Linked DNA regions of Homo sapiens: regions 1, 2, 3, 4 and 5 are each linked to region 6. The links are contacts of gene promoters, found by promoter capture Hi-C in blood cells and fetal thymus (Javierre and others, 2016). All regions are on one chromosome and are shown on one strand. Each heading gives the region's core, a stretch centred on a gene start or on the middle of the fragment in contact. The rest is flanking DNA. Distances are from core to core; before and after follow the strand shown. Region 1 overlaps PPP2R3C (protein phosphatase 2 regulatory subunit B''gamma). Region 2 overlaps SRP54 (signal recognition particle 54). Region 3 overlaps FAM177A1 (family with sequence similarity 177 member A1). Region 4 overlaps SRP54-AS1 (SRP54 antisense RNA 1). Region 5 overlaps PPP2R3C (protein phosphatase 2 regulatory subunit B''gamma). Region 6 holds the start of SNX6 (sorting nexin 6).

The links. Contacts are between HindIII fragments. The CHiCAGO score rates a contact against its expected background, and 5 or more counts as called.
Region 1: a contact is called between a fragment that was not itself captured here and the fragment with the promoter of SNX6 in region 6, in 2 of 17 cell types (neutrophils and total CD8 T cells). The highest score is 10.4, in neutrophils.
Region 2: a fragment that was not itself captured here is called in contact with the fragment with the promoter of SNX6 in region 6 in 1 of 17 cell types (neutrophils); the score reaches 5.8 in neutrophils.
Region 3: a fragment that was not itself captured here is called in contact with the fragment with the promoter of SNX6 in region 6 in 5 of 17 cell types (neutrophils, total CD4 T cells, naive CD8 T cells and 2 more); the score reaches 8.4 in neutrophils.
Region 4: a contact is called between a fragment that was not itself captured here and the fragment with the promoter of SNX6 in region 6, in 4 of 17 cell types (naive CD4 T cells, non-activated CD4 T cells, total CD8 T cells and 1 more). The highest score is 8.1, in naive CD4 T cells.
Region 5: a fragment that was not itself captured here is called in contact with the fragment with the promoter of SNX6 in region 6 in 1 of 17 cell types (neutrophils); the score reaches 6.5 in neutrophils.

What each region holds. Positions count from the first base shown.
Region 1 is chr14:35,101,178-35,104,117 of GRCh38, reverse strand. The region is part of intron 6 of PPP2R3C (protein phosphatase 2 regulatory subunit B''gamma); the gene reads left to right. It overlaps LOC101927178 (a long non-coding RNA gene), which reads right to left. Exons shown (of 5, transcript NR_110415.1): 3 at 1,389-1,437. Among named protein-coding and RNA genes, the nearest start is that of PRORP-PSMA6, 19 kb to the left of the region's middle. RefSeq lists a silencer at 1,222-1,389. The HindIII fragment of the contact is 2,242 bases long and covers 377-2,618 here.
Region 2 is chr14:35,020,370-35,023,732 of GRCh38, reverse strand. It overlaps SRP54 (signal recognition particle 54), which reads right to left. Exons shown (of 16, transcript NM_003136.4): 14 at 653-823. Among named protein-coding and RNA genes, the nearest start is that of FAM177A1, 24 kb to the left of the region's middle. The HindIII fragment of the contact is 1,510 bases long and covers 641-2,150 here.
Region 3 is chr14:35,065,240-35,068,203 of GRCh38, reverse strand. The region is part of intron 2 of FAM177A1 (family with sequence similarity 177 member A1); the gene reads right to left. Among named protein-coding and RNA genes, the nearest start is that of FAM177A1, 20 kb to the right of the region's middle. The HindIII fragment of the contact is 2,595 bases long and covers 191-2,785 here.
Region 4 is chr14:34,931,714-34,935,070 of GRCh38, reverse strand. The region is part of intron 2 of SRP54-AS1 (SRP54 antisense RNA 1); the gene reads left to right. Among named protein-coding and RNA genes, the nearest start is that of SRP54-AS1, 49 kb to the left of the region's middle. The HindIII fragment of the contact is 615 bases long and covers 1,691-2,305 here.
Region 5 is chr14:35,083,295-35,086,169 of GRCh38, reverse strand. PPP2R3C (protein phosphatase 2 regulatory subunit B''gamma) reads left to right here. Exons shown (of 13, transcript NM_017917.4): 13 at 392-698. The coding sequence ends at 580. All of the region lies in intron 1 of LOC101927178 (a long non-coding RNA gene), which reads right to left. FAM177A1 (family with sequence similarity 177 member A1) reads right to left here. Exons shown (of 5, transcript NM_173607.5): 5 at 2,792-2,875. Among named protein-coding and RNA genes, the nearest start is that of PRORP-PSMA6, 37 kb to the left of the region's middle. The HindIII fragment of the contact is 4,348 bases long and covers 1-2,875 here.
Region 6 is chr14:34,628,211-34,631,575 of GRCh38, reverse strand. SNX6 (sorting nexin 6) reads left to right here and starts at 1,428. Exons shown (of 14, transcript NM_152233.4): 1 at 1,428-1,465; 2 at 1,622-1,669. The coding sequence starts at 1,460. RefSeq lists an enhancer at 1,105-1,154 and a silencer at 1,325-1,674. The HindIII fragment of the contact is 3,459 bases long and covers 982-3,365 here.

The sequences.
Region 1 (2,940 bases), core at 248-2,747, 470 kb before region 6:
TAAAAACAGCAATATTGATTTATAAAAACAGTCCCCTGTTACTGCTTGTCTTGCCTCTTTCCATGGATGGAAACAAAGATTGAAAGAGAGATGAGCAAAAGGGAGAGAAAAGAAACAGTGTACTTCTATAGTTGTTTTTAAAAAGGAATAATTTTCCCCTTCTCTCAATGAAAGAAAACACTTTTCTCAAAGTATTTCTTCCATCCTTGGCCCATTGCCTTTTGAAACCCAGACTTTGTGTCTTACTAATTTGAAAGGCAGTGGCTTCCAGACCAACATTTATAATCTGAGTAGAGTATACAAAGTTTTATTCACTTATTAAATCTTATTAAGCATTTAGTAGACATTTATTTGGGGGCAGGTATTATTCTAAGCTTGTAGGGCTCATGTTTTACTTTGTGACAATCTGTTTGCCCAGATTTCTTTTTTTTCTTTTTTTTGTTTTCTTGCCCAGATTTCTGTAGATGGAATCTGTTAGCTCATTCTAAATGTTATACTTTAAAACCTTTCCAGGGACACAGTACAATTTTCATTCCCTTGTAGACCTATTTTTTCTAGCAGAGTGGGAAGACAGACACTAAATTATAAGCAGATAATATCAAATAGTGACAAGTTATATGTAGAAAATAAAACAGTAAACTAGGCAGGAATATGACTGGGATTGACAGACGATTTTAGGTAGGCTGGAAGGAGCATCTTTTTGAGATAGTGATTAAGTTTTAGCCATGAAGTACGAGAAAGAAGCCAGCCTTATGAAGATGTAGTATAGAGGAAACGGCAAATACAGTGTCTCCAAGGCAAAATTAAGCCTGGACCTGTTCTAGGAACAGAAGGAAGCCAGTGTGGCTAGAACAAGGACTATAGTAACAGAAAATGAAGTTGGAGAAGTAGGCAGGGGCCACATGTAGGGCCTTTTGGGCCACAGTAAGGACTTTGGATTTATTTTGAGGCTAACGGGAAACCATCGGAAGTTTTAAGCTGAGTCTGTCAGGATATGATTTACATTTTAAAAGATCATTCTGGATGCTGTATGGAGGATGTAAGGAACTCAAAGTACGGCCAGGCACGGTGGCTCATGCCCGTAATCCCAGCAACTTTGGGAGGCCGAGGCAGGTGGATCGCTTGAGCTCGGGAGTTCAAGACCAGCCTGGCCAACATGACGAAACCCCGTCTCCACTAAAAATACAAAAATTAGCTGGGTATGGGGGTAGGCACCTGTAATCCCAGCTACTTGGAGGCTGAGGCAGGAGAATCACTTGAACCCAGGGGATGGAGGTTGCAGTGAGCCAAGATTGAGCCACTGCACTCCAGCTTGGGCGACAGAGCAAGGCTCCATCTCTAAATAGATAAATAAATCTGGAGTATAAGCAAAATATTTAGGCACCTACCATGATAGTCCAGGTGAGATGATGGGCCCATAACTAGGGTAATTGGTGGCTGTAGAGAAAGCAAGAAATAGATTAATTCAATATATATTTTGGACTCCCCTCCTTCCCAGAAAAAACACAAATTGCTGCTAGATTGGATGTTCAGGGTAAGGAGTGTGAAGGCATTGATGAAGAAAAAGAGAAGCCAAAGACAAGTCTTAAATTTTTATTTTGAGTAACTGTTGGAATAGAGGAAAAGCAGGTGAGGACCAAGGTTGGAGATGACAAGAGAGCCCCATTTTGGATACTTCAAGTTTGAGATGCCAGTTGTCCTATAAACTTGAAAGTATCTCAGATCTACCAGAAATTTGATATTTGAAATGGTTAAAGCAAAAATAACATTGTTAAAATAAGTATAAGAAACCATGGGAAGGCACAGTGGCTCACGCCTGTAATTCCAGCACTTTGGGAGGCCAAGGCAGGCAGATCACTTGAGGTCAGGAGTTCGAGACCAGCCTGGCCAACATGGCGAAACCCCCTCTCTACTAAAAATACAAAAATTAGCCAGGCGTGGTGGTACGTGCCTGTAATCCTGGCTACTCAGGCTGAGACACAAGAATCGCTTGAACCCAAGAGGTGGAGGTTTCAGTGAGCTGAGATTGCGCCACTGCACTCCAGCCTGGACTGGACTGAGACTCCGTCTCAAAAAAAAAAAAAAAAAGAGAGAGAGAAACCATGGAAGGCTTTTAAATTTATAATCCTGTAATAGGGAAAGCCTTTCTAAGTATGACAAAACCCAGAAGTCTAGAAAACAATAAATTCAGCTAAATTTTTAAAGATCTATAGGGCAAAGCCCATGTTAAAGTAAAAAGAAAACAACAAACTGGGGGAAATACCTGAAACAGTCAGAAATGGCCAATTACCCTAATATATAAAAAGCTCCCAGAAATCAAGAAGAAAGCCATTAACCCAATAAAAAACTGGACAAAGATATAGATAATGTATAAAAAGTAAAATTCAAATGCTTCTTAATCATAAGAAACAACTAACTTCACATAAGAGAAATGCCAGATAAATCTACACTAAGTTGCCATTTTTCCCCTATCAAATTAGCAAAGATCAGAAAGTTTGAATTGACACCTTTAGTGTTTGAGTAATTTTTTCACAGTGCTTCTGAGCCAAAAGAAATCCCTAAAAGTTTCACTTATTAACTAGTTAATTTTAAACAATTTAATGAGTATTCATTAAGCTTATTAGCCATTTGAATAAATAATACACTTAAGTTGAAAGAAGATATTTTTATTTCATTCTTAAGTACAGTTATTAATGGGATGTGTACAACTACTTAAACCTGGGAATTAGACTGGACACTTGCCCTCCTCATTTCCTGTTCACTAATTTTTGTGTGGTACTTTACCACAGGAACCATCAAAACCTAGCTTTGCAAAGATTTATGTCATTAAAAGGAGTATATTTGGCTGGGCATGGTGGCTCACGCCTGTAATCCCAGCACTTTGGGAGGCCAAGGCAGGCAGATCGCGAGGTCAGGAGATCGAGACCATCCTGGCTAACA
Region 2 (3,363 bases), core at 146-2,645, 390 kb before region 6:
GGCTCACTGCAAGCTCCGCCTCCTGGGTTCAAGTGATTCTCCTGCCTCAGCCTCCCGAGTAGCTGGGATAACAGGTACACCCCACGACACCCGGATATTTTTTGTATTTTAAGTAGAGGCAGGGTTTCACCATGCTGGCCAGGCTGGTCTTGAACTCCTGACCTCAAGTGATCCGCCCGCCTCAGCCTCCCAAAGTGCTAGGATGACAGGCATGAGCCATCGTGCCTGGCCAAGAATTATGTTTTGAAGAATATTTGACAACATGGAAAAACAGTTATGATATATCAGAAGAAAACTTAGTTATAGCAACTGTTATTTGCAGTAGGATCCACTGGATTCTCTGGGGAGTAAAGGTAATGTGTTTTTTTTTTCCTTATATTATCTAAATTTAATATAATGTGTTCACAAAAAGAAAATCATTGCTTTATTAATTTTTTTTCATTTACCCACACTACACAGATGTAAAGTTTTTTTTTAAATATTAATATTACCTTGAATATGAAAACAGATAAATCACAGGTCACATAAATCCTGGAAGTACTTGAAAATAACATGAAATTCAGCTGTGAATTTTCCAATACTGGCAGCACTCTTTTTTCTCAACTTCCTTTCTTTTCCGTCTGTTAACTAATAACAAGCTTATTTTTCTTACCTTTGAAAAGTCCTTTGATACCTCCCATCTTTTTTACCATCTGTGCAAACTTGGTATATTGTGTCAAAAGTTCTTGAACATCTCTTGTTGATACACCCGATCCTCTTGCTACTCTTTGGATTCTTCCTGGTTGTTTACTAAAAACTTTGGCACCATCCGTACTGTCTAGTTCTGTAGACAAGGTCAGTTACTCTCACACACAATTATCATTCACCATCAAAGCAGTTATGTGCAAATGGGCAATATATAACTTCAAAGAGCTTAGCAGATGTTTTTAAAGTGATAACTATCTCATTTTTCTTTTTATATTACAAAATATCTTACATACAGAAAAACAGACATAATACATAGTCAAACTACCACCCAGATTTAACAAATGTTAACATTCGCTATGTTTGCTTTTGAGTTTTAAAAATTAAACATGGAGGCCAGGCGTGGTGGCTCATGCCTGTAATCACAACACTTTGTGAGGCCGAGGCAGGCAGCTCATGAGGTCAGGAGTTCGACACCAGCCTGGCCAATATGGTGAAACCCTGTCTTTACTAATAATACAAAAATTAGCTGGGCATGGTGGCATGTGCCTGTAGTCCCAGCTACTCGGGAGGCTGAGGCAGAAGAATCGCTTGAACCTGGGAGGCAGAGGTTGCAGTGAGCCAAGATTGCGCCATTGCACTCCAGCCTGGGCGACAGAGCGAGACTCCATCTCAAAAAAAAAAAGAAAATACGGAATATATTCAAAAGAACATTTATAGTATTCATAAGCTATAAAAACAATGAAACAAACATGTACTTTCCCTACAGTTTAAGTAAACTATTAATAGAATGTTTCGAGACCCCATGTCCAACATTTCCATACTTCATATGTCTACCCTCTCCAGGCCCTCCAAACATCAGAGGTATATGGTATATTTAAAAAATGAACACAAATGCTCACTTTAGCTCTACCCTAAATATTAATCATAAATTCATAATGTAGACTATATAAGCAAGCAGAAAGAGGTACGTTCTATCCATAATCAACAGAAAAATTATTTCCTATAATCAAGTAATTACTACTACTAGTATTTTAATTCTCTCAGTAGCATATAGTGAATTAATTCCCGCAGTTGTTTGATCACTCTTAGAATATCAGGTGCATTTCTTCTAGCTTCAGTTGCATGCAATCTCAGGAATGGGATGGACTTTAGTCAAAATGTCCATTATGTCTGCATTCCCTCTGCAATATCCCCCAAATAAATGGTTATCTAGCCTTGGTCTTAATATCCCCAGGAGAGATGACCTGCTATCTAATGTAAGGCTGTCTATGCCATTCTGTTATACTTAGGGAAAAATCTTTTCTTTACACATATTAAATTGAAATCCATTTACGTGGCACTTCCATTCCTATTCATGTATATGTCTCCTTGCTACGCATAAAAAATAAGGCTTTCAAAATCTTTTTTTTTTTTGAGACAGAGTGTTGCTCTGTCCCTCAGGCTGGAGTGCAGTGGTGCAAGCTTCGCTCACTGCAACCACCACCTCCAGGGTTCAAGCGATTCTCCCACCTCAGGCTCCTGAGTAGCTGGAACTATAGGCACACGCCACCACAGCCAGCTAATTTTTTTTGTACTTTTAGTAAAGACAGGGTTTCACCATGTTGCCCAGGCTGGTCTCGAACTCCTGACCTCAAGTGATCCACCGACCTCAGCCTCCCAAAATGCTGGGATTACAGTTGAGAGCCACCGCACCTGGCCAGCTTTCAAATGCATAAGAGCTACCATGTCTCCTGTGAATTTTCGCTGGATGACAAATATCCACCTCTGACTCTTCTAACATGGTTTAGAACCCCATTTATCATCCTGATTTCCTACATCTTTTAATTTGTCTATACATACCCTCTAAGTATATTGTCCAGAAGTGAACTGAAATCCAGGTGAAGTCTAATTATCAATGCAATACTAACAAAGATACAATATCTCAAAATAAAGTCACGATCAAAACCTCCAAATCCATTTCATAAATGCAGCTTTTAAGCCACATCTTCCTTATAAAAGATTTATGAAACATATATATTATATTCCTTCCAACAGCTCAAATCAAATGAAAGAAGATAAACTAATAGCAGCACATCGTGGCAAGTAATACGACAGAGTTAAGCAAATAGAGGAAGGGGCGTTAATTCAAAGAAGGAAGGAAGTCAGGAAAGGTTCTATACTGGGCAAATTACTCAACTTCCCTGTATCCCAGTTTCCTAATTTGAAAAAGGCAGATAATAACTGAATATGCCATAGGAGTTGTTATGATGATAAAATGAATTAATATATTTAAAGTGCTCAGGACAGTGCCTGGCACAGAATGGATACTTTAGATATGCTGCAATTATGAATTCTACATGCAAACATTTTTGCAGTGTTAAAGACAGTGAGGAAAAAAAACAACCTTAAAAGAAAAAGACAGTCTTATTTGGGCTACTATGAAAACCTGGAGCTCAGGAAAAAGAGACTACAAAAAAATAACAATAAATCAGATAGTAGATAAAGCACAGATATGAAAAATTGTTCAAATTGTTAGAATATTACATAAACTTAGTTGATAAAGCAGCAGCAGCAGGGTTTGACAGAACTGACTCCAATTTTGGAAGACGTTCTACTGTGGGTAAAATGCTATCGAACAGCATCGAATACTACAGAGAAATCTTTTGTGAAAAGAAGAGTCAATCAATGGGGCAAATT
Region 3 (2,964 bases), core at 239-2,738, 440 kb before region 6:
CCTATTTACTGCCACCGATGGAGATTCTGAAATACATATTGGAAAAATTATCCATGTAAAACTACTAGAAGAAAACATAAGGGAAAACTACATAACATTGGTCTGGGCAATACTTTTTTGGATTTGACCCCAAAAGCTCAGGCAACAAAACCAAAACCAGACTAATGGGATTACATCAAAATAAAAAGCTTCTGCACAGTAAAAGAAACAATCAACACAGTGAAGTGACAACCCATGGATTGGGAGAAAATACTTGCAAGCCATACATTTGATAAGGGGTTAATATCCAAAATATGTAAAGAACTTAAACAACTCAAAAGCAAAAAAACAACCTAATTAAAAACTAGGCTAAGGACCTGAACAGATACTTCTCAAGAGAAGGCATATGAATAGTCAACAGATATATGAAAAAATGTTCAACATCACTAATCATTAAGGAAAGGCAAATTAAAATCACAATGAGATATCACCACATACCTGTCAAAATGGATATTATCAAAAAGATAAAAGATAACAAATGTTGGCAAGGATGTAGAGAAAAGGGAACCCAGGTGCACTTGGTGGGAATGCAAATCAGTACAGCCATTTTGGAAAACAGGATGGAGGTTCCTCAAAAAATTAAAAACAGAATTACTATATAATCCAGCAATTCAATTTCTGAATATATATTGAAAGGAACTGGAATCAGTATATCAAAGAGATATCTGCACTCCCATGTTTATTACATCATTATTCACAATGGCCACATTATGGAACCAACCTAGGTGTCCATATCAGATGAATGGATAAAGAAAATGTGACATATATACAAAATGAAATACAATTCAGCCTTTAAAAATAGGGAATTCTGTCATTTGTGCAACGTGGATGAACCTGGAGGACATTATGCTACTGAAATAACCCAGGCACAGAAAGGCATAATGCCACGTTTTCACTTTTATGTGGAATCCAAAACTGAACTCATAGAAACAGAGAGCACAATGGTGGTTACCAGAGGCTGGGGGTTAAGGGGAAATGGGGAGATGTTGGTCAAAGAGCTCAATGTTACAGTTAGGAAGAATAAATGGTAAGTACTTGAGGCAATAAATATGTTTAATAAAAACAGAAAATTGGGCTGGGCATGGTAGCTCACACCTGTAATCCCAGAACTTCGGGAGGCCAGGGTGGGCAGATCACCTGAGGTTGGGAGTTTGAGACTAGCCTGACCAACATGGAGAAACCCCGTCCCTATAAAAATACATAATTAGCCAGGCGTGGTGGCGCATGCCTGTAATCCCAGCTACAAGGGAGGCTGAGATAGGAGAATCGCTTTAACCCAGGAGGCAGAGGTTGCGGTGAGCTGAGATTGTGCCATTGCGCTCCAGCTTGGGCAAGAGCAAAACTCCGTCTCAAAAAAAAAAGATTCAAGATTCAAAAGCCTCTATTATGTATACATTCCATTAACTATAACAATGGCATTTAAATATATACATCAAGTTGGCATCAAGATGCTCTTTTATGGCCAGGCGCGGTGGCTCACGCCTGTAATCCCAGCACTTTGGGAGGCTGAGGCGGGCAGATCACTTGAGGTCAGGAGTTTGAGACCAGCCTAGCCATCATGGTGAAACCTCGTCTCTACTAAAAATACAAAAATTAGCCAGGAGTGGTAGCGCACACCTGTAATCCCAGCTACAAGGGAGACTGAGGCAGGAGAATTGCTTGATCCCAAGGGCAGAGGTTGCAGTGAGCCGAGATTACGCCACTGCACTCCAGCCTGGGCAACAGAGTGACACTCTGTCTCAAAAAAAAAAAAAAAAAGATGCTCTTTTACTACTTTAAACAACACAAGAAAAATGGATTTGAGGCCAGGAACTCATGCTTGTAATCCCAGCACTTTGGGAGGCCAAAATAGGAGGATCATTTGAGCCGAGGAGTCCAAGACCAGCCTGGGCAACATAATGAGACCTTATCTCTACAAAAAATTTTAAAAATTAGACAGGTGTGGTGGCCTATATCTGTAGTCCCAGCTACTTAGGAGGCTGAGGTGGAAAGATCGTTTGAGCCCAGGAGGTCAAGGCTACAGTGAGCCATCATCATGCCACTTTACTACAGCCTGGGCAACAGAGGAAGACCTTGTCTCAAAAAGAAAAAAATTTAAAAAAAAGGATTAGAATTCCTACGATTTTCATATTATCAGACAATGGCTTTAATACTTTGTTTCTAGGCAGGGTGCAGTGGCTCACACCTGTAATCTCAGCACTTTGGGAGGCCAAGGTGGGTGGATTACGAGGTCAGGAGTCTGGCCAACTCCTGTTGACCAGTCTGGCCAAGATGGTGAAATCCTGTCTCTACTAAAAACACAAAAATTAGCTGGGCATGGTGGCAGGTACCTGTAATCCCAGCTACTCGGGAAGCTGAGACAGGAGAATCATTTGACCCTGGGAGGTGGAGGTTGCAGTGAGCCGAGGTCGTACCACTGCACTCCAGCCTGAGCGACAGGGTGACTGTCTCAAAAAAAAAAAAAAAAATTGCTTCTTATACCTTTTAAAACAAAGTCTACATTAATGAAAAACAAAATTAACAGCCATCTATTGCTGGTGGAAGTTGAAGGAAATGCATAGCAGGTAACACATTTTTATTTAAAGAATATTCTGCCTGAGCACCATTCTGTCTATATAAAAGGATTCAAAAAGTAATCAAATACTCAGTTGGCAACTTCCCTAAATGGCATTTAAGATGTGCTTATCTTATCAGAGAAAAATTGAAAAAAACTATTCAGGTGGAAGTCTTTGGTTAGTTCTAAGCTTTAAAAATTTTTTCTGAACAGAAATGAGAATGTTGTCTAGCAAAAAAAAAAAAAAAAAAAAGATTCAATGGAAAAATCTCCTGAGTGGCTGAATACATTATGGTTTAATATATTAAACCATAATGTATTCTATTAATATTTAAAGTTTCCCTCCAAGGCAGAGCTTGCAGTGAGCCAAG
Region 4 (3,357 bases), core at 749-3,248, 300 kb before region 6:
TAAAGGACTGTAGTTTCCAGTCAGACTTTTCCATTTAAAAACCATGAGCTTCTATTTTTACAAGTCATAGGTACTTAATTAGTTCTCCACTATTCTGTAAAATAATACACTCCTAGTTCTGTGATAACTCTGGTCAATTCTAGAAATAAGTATTCGTTAGTACAAATTACCAGAGCCTGTGGATTTGAATGTATCAATCTGTTTTATTAAGCAGGCCCCATTTTGTGAAACTCAGCTGGAAAACGACAGTCAACCTGACAATTCTCATAGATAGTTAATTTAAGAAATTCTTCTTCTTCTTCTTCTTTTTTTTTTTTTTTTTTTTTGATAGAGGGTCTTACTCTATTGCCCAGGCTGGAGTGCAGCGGCACAATCATGTCTCACTGCAGCCTCAGCCTCCGGAATAGCTGGGACTGCAGGTGCACACCACGATGCCCAGCTAATTTTTTTTTTTTTTTTTTTTTTTGAGACGGAGTGTCGCTCTGTCGCCCAGAGTGGAGTACAGTGGCTCCATCTCGGTTCACTGCAAGCTCCACCCGCTGGGCTCACGCCATTCTCCTGCCTCAGCCTCCCGAGTAGCTGGGAATACAGGCGCCTGCCACTACGCCCAGCTAATTTTTGTATATTTAGTAGAGACGGGGTTTCACCGTGTTAGCCAGGATGGTCTCGATCTCCTGACCTCGTGATCCACCTGCCTCGGCCTCCCAAAGTGCTGGGATTACAGATGTGAGCCACGGCGCCCGGCCGCCCAGCTAATTTTTAAATTTTTTTTGTAGAAACAGAGTTTCACGAAGTTGCCCAGGCTGGTCTCAAACTCCTGGGCTCGAGCAGTTTGCCCACCCCAGCCTCCCAAAGTGCTAGGATTACAGGTGTGAGCCACCACACTTGGCTAATTTTCTTTTTCTTTTTCTTTCTTTTTTTTTTTTTTTTTTGAGACAGTCTCACTCTGTCACCTGGCTGGAGTTTAGTGACACGATCTTAGCTCCCTGCAACCTCTGCCTCCTGAGTTCAAGTGATTCTCCTACCTCAGCCTCCTGAGTAGCTGGAATTACAGGTACACACCACCACGCCCAGCTAATTTTTGTATTTTTAGCAGAGACAGCGTTTCGCCATGTTGGCCTCTATCTCTTGACCTTGTGATCCACCCACCGCAGCCTCCCAAAGAGCTGGGATTACAGGCGTGAGCCACCATGCCCAGCCTAATTTTTTATTTTTTGTGAAGATGGGGTCTCTGTTGCCTGGGCTGGTCTCAAACTCCAGGGCTCAAGTGATCCTCCAGTCTCAGCCTCCCAAAGTGCTGAGATTACAGGCATGAGCCCCTGTGCCCACCCAAAAAATTATTCTTAAGCTGGTGAGTACATAAATGTTTCTTTATTATTTTTTAAATCTATATATATGTTTTATGAAGTTTTTGTTATGTGTAATACATTTCATAATAAAAACAAGGTTTAAAAAAAACAAGCTTTCTGACTTGTTCTGATATTTAAGATTTTGGTAAAAAGTTTTAAGTTTTAAAGAGTGCATATGGGCTGGTCCGAGTGCAGTGGTTTATGACTAATTAATCACAACCAGTTCCAGATTTCTTTGTTCTTTCTCTACTCCCACTGCTTCACTTGGCTAGCCTTTAGTAAATAAATAAATAAATAGAGTGCCTATGGTAGTTAACCAAAAAAAGAGTGTTTTCTAAGCTTCCATTAAGTCTATCATACACTATCATTAATTCCCCTAAGACTGTGTCAAGTTACCTATTTACAAAGATCGATTGCTCAGATCCTTCAAAGTTCATGAATCCTTTAGTTTTGGATGATAAAGAGTGAAAAAACAAAAGTTAAAGAGAAGCCCACAGAACCAGAGAAAAAAAGAAGTTGCCTTCTTTCTCATCCTTCATAAACACCTGCCCACACAGGTTGATGTCCTTTTTCAAATATTTAGTCAGACCCCAAGCACTACCTTTGACCCTGGTATTACAAGTCCCACTCTGCCTTTACTACTCATATCTGAACTTTTAATATCTAATTACAATATTCAGTGAACTGATATTACATGCTACCATTTTTAAGTTTGGAATTAAACTTGGAATTATGTTGACAAATCTGGTTTGTTTTAGAACTTAATACGATTTAGAACTTTTGTTTATTATGTTTTATAAATTAAATGCCATTTTTTACCTTTTAAAATTATCTTCCTATTTTATTCATTCAGCAAATATTTATATACCTATAGTAAAAGTATATAAACCTGATATATAGTAATATATCCAGAAATGTTCAGGATAGAAATGCAGTAGTGAACAGACAAGCAAGCTTGTAGTCTTTAAATAAATTACCAACTGTAATGCTGTTTGACATTATGTTTTTAAATAATGCATAACCTATTGTTATCAGGGAGTTATACATACCTATGTATTACCATATATCTTCCAATATAGGCTTGTAATAAAGTCAGTATACTCACGTTCTCTTTTCTAAGCATGTCTTAACAGGTTAAACCACACAACCGTGATATTTGTATATTATATAATTAACATCTTAAATAACAGCTTTGAAATTTCTTTTTTTTTTTTTTTTTTTTTTTTTTTTTTTTTGAGACGGAGTCTCGCTGTCACCCAGGCTGGAGTGCAGTGGCGCGATCTGGGCTCACTGCAAGCTCCACCTCCCGGGTTCACGCCATTCTCCTGCCTCAGCCTCCCCAGTAGCTGGGACTACAGGCGCCCGCCACCACGCCCAGCTAATTTTTTGTATTTTTAGTAGAGGTGGGGTTTCACCGTGTTAGCCAGGATGGTCTCGATCTCCTGACCTCGTGATCCGCCCGCCTCGGCCTCCCAAAGTGCTGGGATTACAGGCGTGAGCCACCGCGCCCGGCCTGAAATTTCTTAGTGATAGATTGCACTGCACTAAAATTTGAGACAGGGCCAGGCATGGTAGCTCACCCCTATAATCCCAGCACTTTGGGAGGCCAAGGTGGGCGGATCACCTGAGGTCAGGAGTTTGAGACGAGCCTGGCCAACATGACAAAACCCTATCTCTACTAAAAATACAAAAATTAGCCTGGCATGGTGGCACACACCTGTAATCCCTGCTACTCAGGAGGCTGAGGCAGGAGAATCACTTGAACCAAGGGCGGAGATTGCAGTGAGCCGAGATTGCACCACTGCATTCCAGCCTGGACGACAGAGCAAGACTCTGTCTCAAAAAATAAATAAATAAAAATTGAGGCAGATACACTTCGTATCATACACATTAAAACAGGAAAGGATTAACCCTCATCACACATATACTCAAATCAAAGTTAATACCACTTGGTTTTCTTTTTATTTGTTTTAGTAAAAATTAGACAGTTTACAATTAAAGAAACTAT
Region 5 (2,875 bases), core at 54-2,553, 450 kb before region 6:
GTTTCACCAATTAGAAGGCAACAGAAAAATATATAAGAAACTAGTTAACGTGCAGTCCCTGAACACTGCATTAGATAGTTCTGCCACTAATTACCTATGTAGCTAGATTAGGCACTGAGCCTTGGTTTCTTCATCTATAAAACGAAGGATAGCTATCACATAGCTAAGGAGTTATCCAATAAAATTTTGTGGTTGTAGGTAGAGAAAAGGAAACTGCCTGTTAAATGGAAAAGAAAAAAAGTAGAACAAAAAATTAACATAAGCCCAAGTGGCAGCCCTCAATTTTATTCCTCTGTACTTCAGTGGATGCAAACAGCCCTGAATTTTGGATCACTATGTGTGATAGAAATTAAGTGGATCAAATTTCATTGTATTTTTTTTTCTCTTGCAGGATGAAATCTTTGACATGGTAAAACCAAAGGATCCTTTGAAAATCTCTCTTCAGGATTTAATCAACAGTAATCAAGGAGACACAGTAACCACCATTCTAATCGATTTGAATGGCTTCTGGACTTACGAGAACAGAGAGGCTCTTGTTGCAAATGACAGTGAAAACTCTGCAGACCTTGATGATACATGATCTCTGAAAGACTAGACTGTCTTATATTATGAGATACTTGAATGCTGCATGTAAAGCCTTTAAAGCAAAATCCTCAGAAATGGTCTAAATAAAACACTTGATATGCCTAGAGAACACAGCAAATGTTTTGGTTACTGGAATTTTGGTTGCAATAGTTTAGAAGCAATAGGACCAAATATTGCTTGTTAGGAGGTGGGGTAAGTTCTGGTTCCTTTTAGTTCAAAGATGGGAAGTGTGATTTGCTGTAGGTAGATGATGTTCAGTTTAAATCTGTATAATCTTCAGAGATGAAGTTTCCATGGAATATTTCTGACAGTCATTTAGAATGTGAATATTTGACTGACAGTGCATATATATATACACACAACATGTGTGTGTGTGTGTGTCTATATATATAAAATCTCAAAGATGACAAACTTTCCCATTCATGAGTAGAGCCATTTTATTTCTGGGTTAGGATTAGGATTTTTTTTTAGGGGGGGTCAAGTGATTCTCCTGCCTCGGCCTCCTGAGTAGCTGGGATTATAGGCGCCTGCCAACACACCTGGCTAATTTTTGTATTTTAGCAGAGACAGGGTTTCACCATGTTGGCCAGGCTGGTCTCAAACTCCTGACCTCAAGTCATCTGCCCGCCTCGGCCTCCCAAAGTACTGGGATTACAGGTGTGAGGCACCACGCCCAGCCTTTTTGTTTTGCGGTTTTTTTTTTTTTTCTCTTGAGACAGTCTCCGTCTGTTGCCCAGGCTGGAGTGCAGTGGCATGATCTCTGCTCACTGCAGCCTCCACCTCCTAGCTTCAAGCGATTCTCCTGCCTCAGCCTCCTAAGCAGCTGGGACTTCAGGTGTGCACCACCATGCCTGGCTAATTTTTGTATTTTTAGTAGAGATGGGGGTCTTGCCATGTTGGCCAGGCTGGTCTCGAACTCCTGACCTCAGGTGATCCGCCTGCCTCGGCCTCCCAAAGTGCTGGGACTATAGCCACCATGATTCACAGTGATACGTGAGCCACGTGCCCAGCCTTGTTCTTTCTTTTAATTGGATGTTTTAATAAAATGTATTCAAACTAGTATTTTACTTTCATGAAAATCATTGGTATAAAAAATTTGTTGGCTGGGCACGGTGGCTTACGCCTGTAATCCCAGCACTTTGGGAGGCTGAGGTGGGCGGATCACGAGTTCAGGAGATTGAGACCATCCTGGCTAACACAGTGAAACCCCGTCTCTACTAAAAATACAAAAAATTAGCTGGGCGTGGTGGAGGGTGCCTGTAGTCCCAGCTACTCAGGAGGCTGAGGCAGGAGAATGGCGTGAACCCGGGAGGCGGAGCTTGCAGTGAGCCAAGATTGAGCCACTGCACTCCAGCCTGGCAACAGAGTGAGACTCCATCATCTCAAAAAAAAAAAAAAAAAAATTGTCTAGTTTTATTAACCAATACCAGAGTTACATTTTACAAAACTTAATTCCAAGCCCGGACAACATGGCAAAACCAAGTCTCTACAAAAAATAAATAAAAAACATTAGCTGGGCATGGTGGTGTGAGCCTGTAGTCCCAGATCCTTAGGAGGCTGACAGGGAAGGACTGCTTAAGCCCAGGAGGTCGAGGCTGGAGTGAGCCATGATTGCACTATTGCACTCCAGCCTGGGCAACACAGTAAGACCCTGTCCCAAACCAAAAAACAAACTTCATTTTGTTAAGGATTTTTGTTAAAGAATTTATGTTAATTCAGGATAAAGACTTCAGTTATACATTACATTTAGTTTTTATGAGATGCTGAAAGATTAGAAGAAGGTAAATATGAACTATGATCCAGAAGGAACTGGAATTCTGTTTTTTTTTTTTTTTTTGGAGACGAGTCTTGCTGTGTCGCCCAGGCTGGAGTACAATGGTGCAAACTCCATTCACTGCAACCTCCGCCTCCCAGGCTCAAGTGACTCTCCTGCCTCAGCCTCCCGAGCAGCTAGGATTACAAGCACCTGCTACCATGCCCGGCTAATTTTTGTATTTTTAGTAGAAATCCATCTCTACTAATTCACCATGTTGGCCAGGTTGGTCTCGGACTCCTGACCTAGTGATCCGCCCACCTTGGCCTCCCAAAGTGCTGGGACTACAGGCGTGGGCCACCGTGCCCAGCTGGAACTGGAATTCTTAAAAGGACTGAAAAGGAGATAGGAAAAAGTGAGTGAAAGAGGCTTAAAGTAAGACAAACCATTGAATACATTTATGGGAAATTTTATAGTTTGCATAAACAAAGTATAAACTTAAGGCACAGTGAATAACTATATTGATAAACATAAACT
Region 6 (3,365 bases), core at 179-2,678:
AGGTATGGGCTGGGCGCAGTGGCTCACACCTGTAATCCCAGCACTTTGGGAGGTCGAGGCGGGCGGATCATGAGGTCAGGAGATCAAGACCTTCCTGGCTAACATGGTGAAATCCTGTCCTACTAAAAATACAAAAAAATTAGCCGGGTGTGGTGGCACACACCTGTAGTCCCAGCTACTCGGGAGGCTGAGGCAGGAGAATGGCGTGAACCCTGGAGGTGGAGCTTACAGTGAGCCGAGATCGCACCACTGCACTCCAGCCTGGGCGACAGAGCGAGACTCTGTCTCAAAAAAAAAAAAAAAAGAGGTATGAAGGACAATCAATTGTAGAAGCCATAGGATTTGGTTGGATATGAGGAGTAAGGGAGATAAGGATTTATTTCTTTCTTTTTTTGAGACAGAGTCTTGCTCTGTTGCCCAGGCTGGAGTGCAGTGGTGCAATCTCGGCTCACTGCAACCTCTGCCTTCCAGGTTCAAGCGATTCTTTTGCTTCAGCCTCCCAAGTAGCTGAGATTACAGGCACGCGCCACCACGCCCGGCTAATTTTTGTATTTTTAGTAGAGACGGGGTTTCACCATGTTAGCCAGGATGGTCTCAAACTCCTGACCTCAGGTGATCCGCCCGCCTTGGCCTCCCAAAGTGCTGGAATTAGAGACGTGAGCCACAGCGCCCGGCCCCTAGAGTACGGATTTCAATGGGTTAAGGGTTTCTGGTCTGAACATCTGAAGATGCCTTTCCTTAACTGAATGCAAGCTCAGGAACGTGTAGATTCTAGGATTAAGTATGATTTTCTCCCGTTATTTGAAATGCCTGTGGATCCCGTGTGATGCTAACCACCTGGACAGTTAGAGTAGGTGTGGGGAAATTTCTTCTAACAAAGGAAAGGAATATTTTTGTAATGAAAACAGCTCATTTTTATAGTTCGCAACCATTAGTGCCCCAAACTCTGAGGTAGTTATTACCTCGCCAGCGGTAAAAGCTTGATTATAGTCCCTGATTACCGACTGTGTGAAGGTCCTTGTTTCCAGCAACTTCCATAGGCAAAATGATATTAATTGTGATTAATTATCGTGTGGCATAATACAAAGACCAGATGATGTATTATGGCTTCCGGAGGGCGCCTGCATCGTTTTTCGCTGGAGCCCTCGGGGCAGGGGAACTGGAGAGCTCCCTGGGTGGCCTTTGGCCCTTCCCTGGTCAGAGCCCGCCAGCTGCGAGGTGCCCCCAGCCATGAGGTCTGGGTCTTCAGGCTCTCCCGACTTCGGTGCCTTGACCTTGGGCAGAAGGCCCTGTTAACCTTCCTCGCTCACGGACTCGAGCGACCAGCGCCGGGGACGGGGCGGGCCGTCCTTAGGCCCCGCCCCTTCGCCTCCGCCCCGCCCCGCCCCGCTCCTGGCCGCCGGCTCCCTCCGGCAGCAGGGAGATGCGCGCCTGCGCCGGCCCTCGCCTCGGAGCAGCCATGATGGTGGGTGTTCTCCGCGGCGCCGAGTCCCGGGAGCGCGGTGGGGGCAGCGGGCGCGGGGCGGGCGCGGGGACCGCGCCAGCCTGTCACTAATGTCTCCCTTTGTGTCTCCCCCATCTCATCCTTTTCCCCGGCGCGCCGTGCCCGCCGACCCCACAGGAAGGCCTGGACGACGGCCCGGACTTCCTCTCAGAAGAGGACCGCGGAGTAAGTTCTGCCTTCCTTTCGCTCGCGGGACCCTGGACCCTCCTTCCCCATCCTGGGTCCCCGGGTGTGGTACGGGGATGGGTCCCCAGCCGCGCGGCACTCCCTCCCCGTAGTCCTCCTTTCGGTTTCCTCGCTGCACCGCGCCCCACCCTCCCGCAGCCCTTCCTCCCTAGGGGCCGCTCGGCTCCGATTCCCGGGGACCCGCGGCCGCTTTCTTGTCCCCCGCCGCTGTTCGGGCCTTCTGGTGGACCTCCACTCCCACGCGGGGCGGGGTGCAGGTGGCGAAGTGGAAATGGAGGCGGGAGATGGAACGCCCCCACCCTCCCTCGACACTTTGGGGCCATGAAAACCCATTCTCGGACCTTCCCAGCGGCACCCTCAATTTTCACCCGGTGTGGACATCTCGAACTTGCTCCCGCCCACCCTTCTGTCTCTCTCAAATAGTACAGGTGTAGTCTACATTACCATTTTGCAAGGATTTTTATAGTAGCCGAATCAACTCCTGTCCAGTGCCCTACTAGATTATGCAAAGTGCAGGTAGCCCATGGTATCTTTACTTTTTCTAATATCCAACAAATCCTGTCTTTGGCAGGATTTCCTTGGTGTTTTATTCCCCCTTAGCTTCTTTGAGGTATATTGACAAATACTGTTGATAATTGTATATACTTAAGGTATACATTATATTTTAATACACGAATACATTGTGAAATGAGTACCAAAATCAACCTGACATATCCATCACCTCACCTAGTTACCATTTTTTTTTGTGTGAGAACATTTGAGATCTAAGCAAATTTCAAGTATGTACCCTTTGACCAACATCGACGCTCCACCCACTCACCCCCCACATACACACTCCGCCAGGCCTTTGATAACCTCCATTCTGCCCTTGGTGTTCTGAGGTTAGTTGCATTCTACTTCAGAAAGAGCCTTCCGGGCTCTGATTCCTCCCTCCCACCCCACTCTCCACCCCCTTTTTCCTTGGCTGAAGGGTGGTAATCTTTATAGTCCCTTGTACAAGTGAGCACTTGGAAAATGTTGATATATGATAATTACCATTCAGCAAGGTTCCATGGTTCCTTCACATTTCACAGCCTGCACTTCAGTTTTCCCTTTTGCTTTTTCTTATCCGTTTTAATGTGAGAGAGACATCTGTTAGTGCATATTTGGTAGGTGATAAAATATTGTGGGATGTTATTGCTGTTTGTAATAACAGATGAGGTAGTTAGTATGAACTGATGACTTTTATAAAACTTTTATTTATTTATTTGGTTTTATGAGACAGTATCTCCCTTTGTTGCCCAGGCTGGAGTGCAGTGGCATGGTTATAGCTCACTGCAGCCTTGACCTCCTGGGCTTAAGTGATCCTCCCACCTCAGCCTCCCAAGTAGCTGGGACTACTGGCACGGGCCACCATGCCTAGCTGGGTTTTTGTTTGTTGGCTTTTTGAGACGGAGTCTTGCTCTGTCACCCAGACTGGAGTGCAGTAGCGCTATCTTGGCTCACTGCAAGCTCCGCCTCCCGGGTTCACGCCATTCTCCTGCCTCAGCCTCCCGAGTAGCTGGGACTACAGGCGCCCGCCACCACGCCCGGCTAATTTTTTGTATTTTTAGTAGAGACGGGGTTTCATCATGTTAGCCAGGATGGTCTCGATTTCCAGACCTCGTGATCTACCCACCCCGGCCTCCCAAAGTGC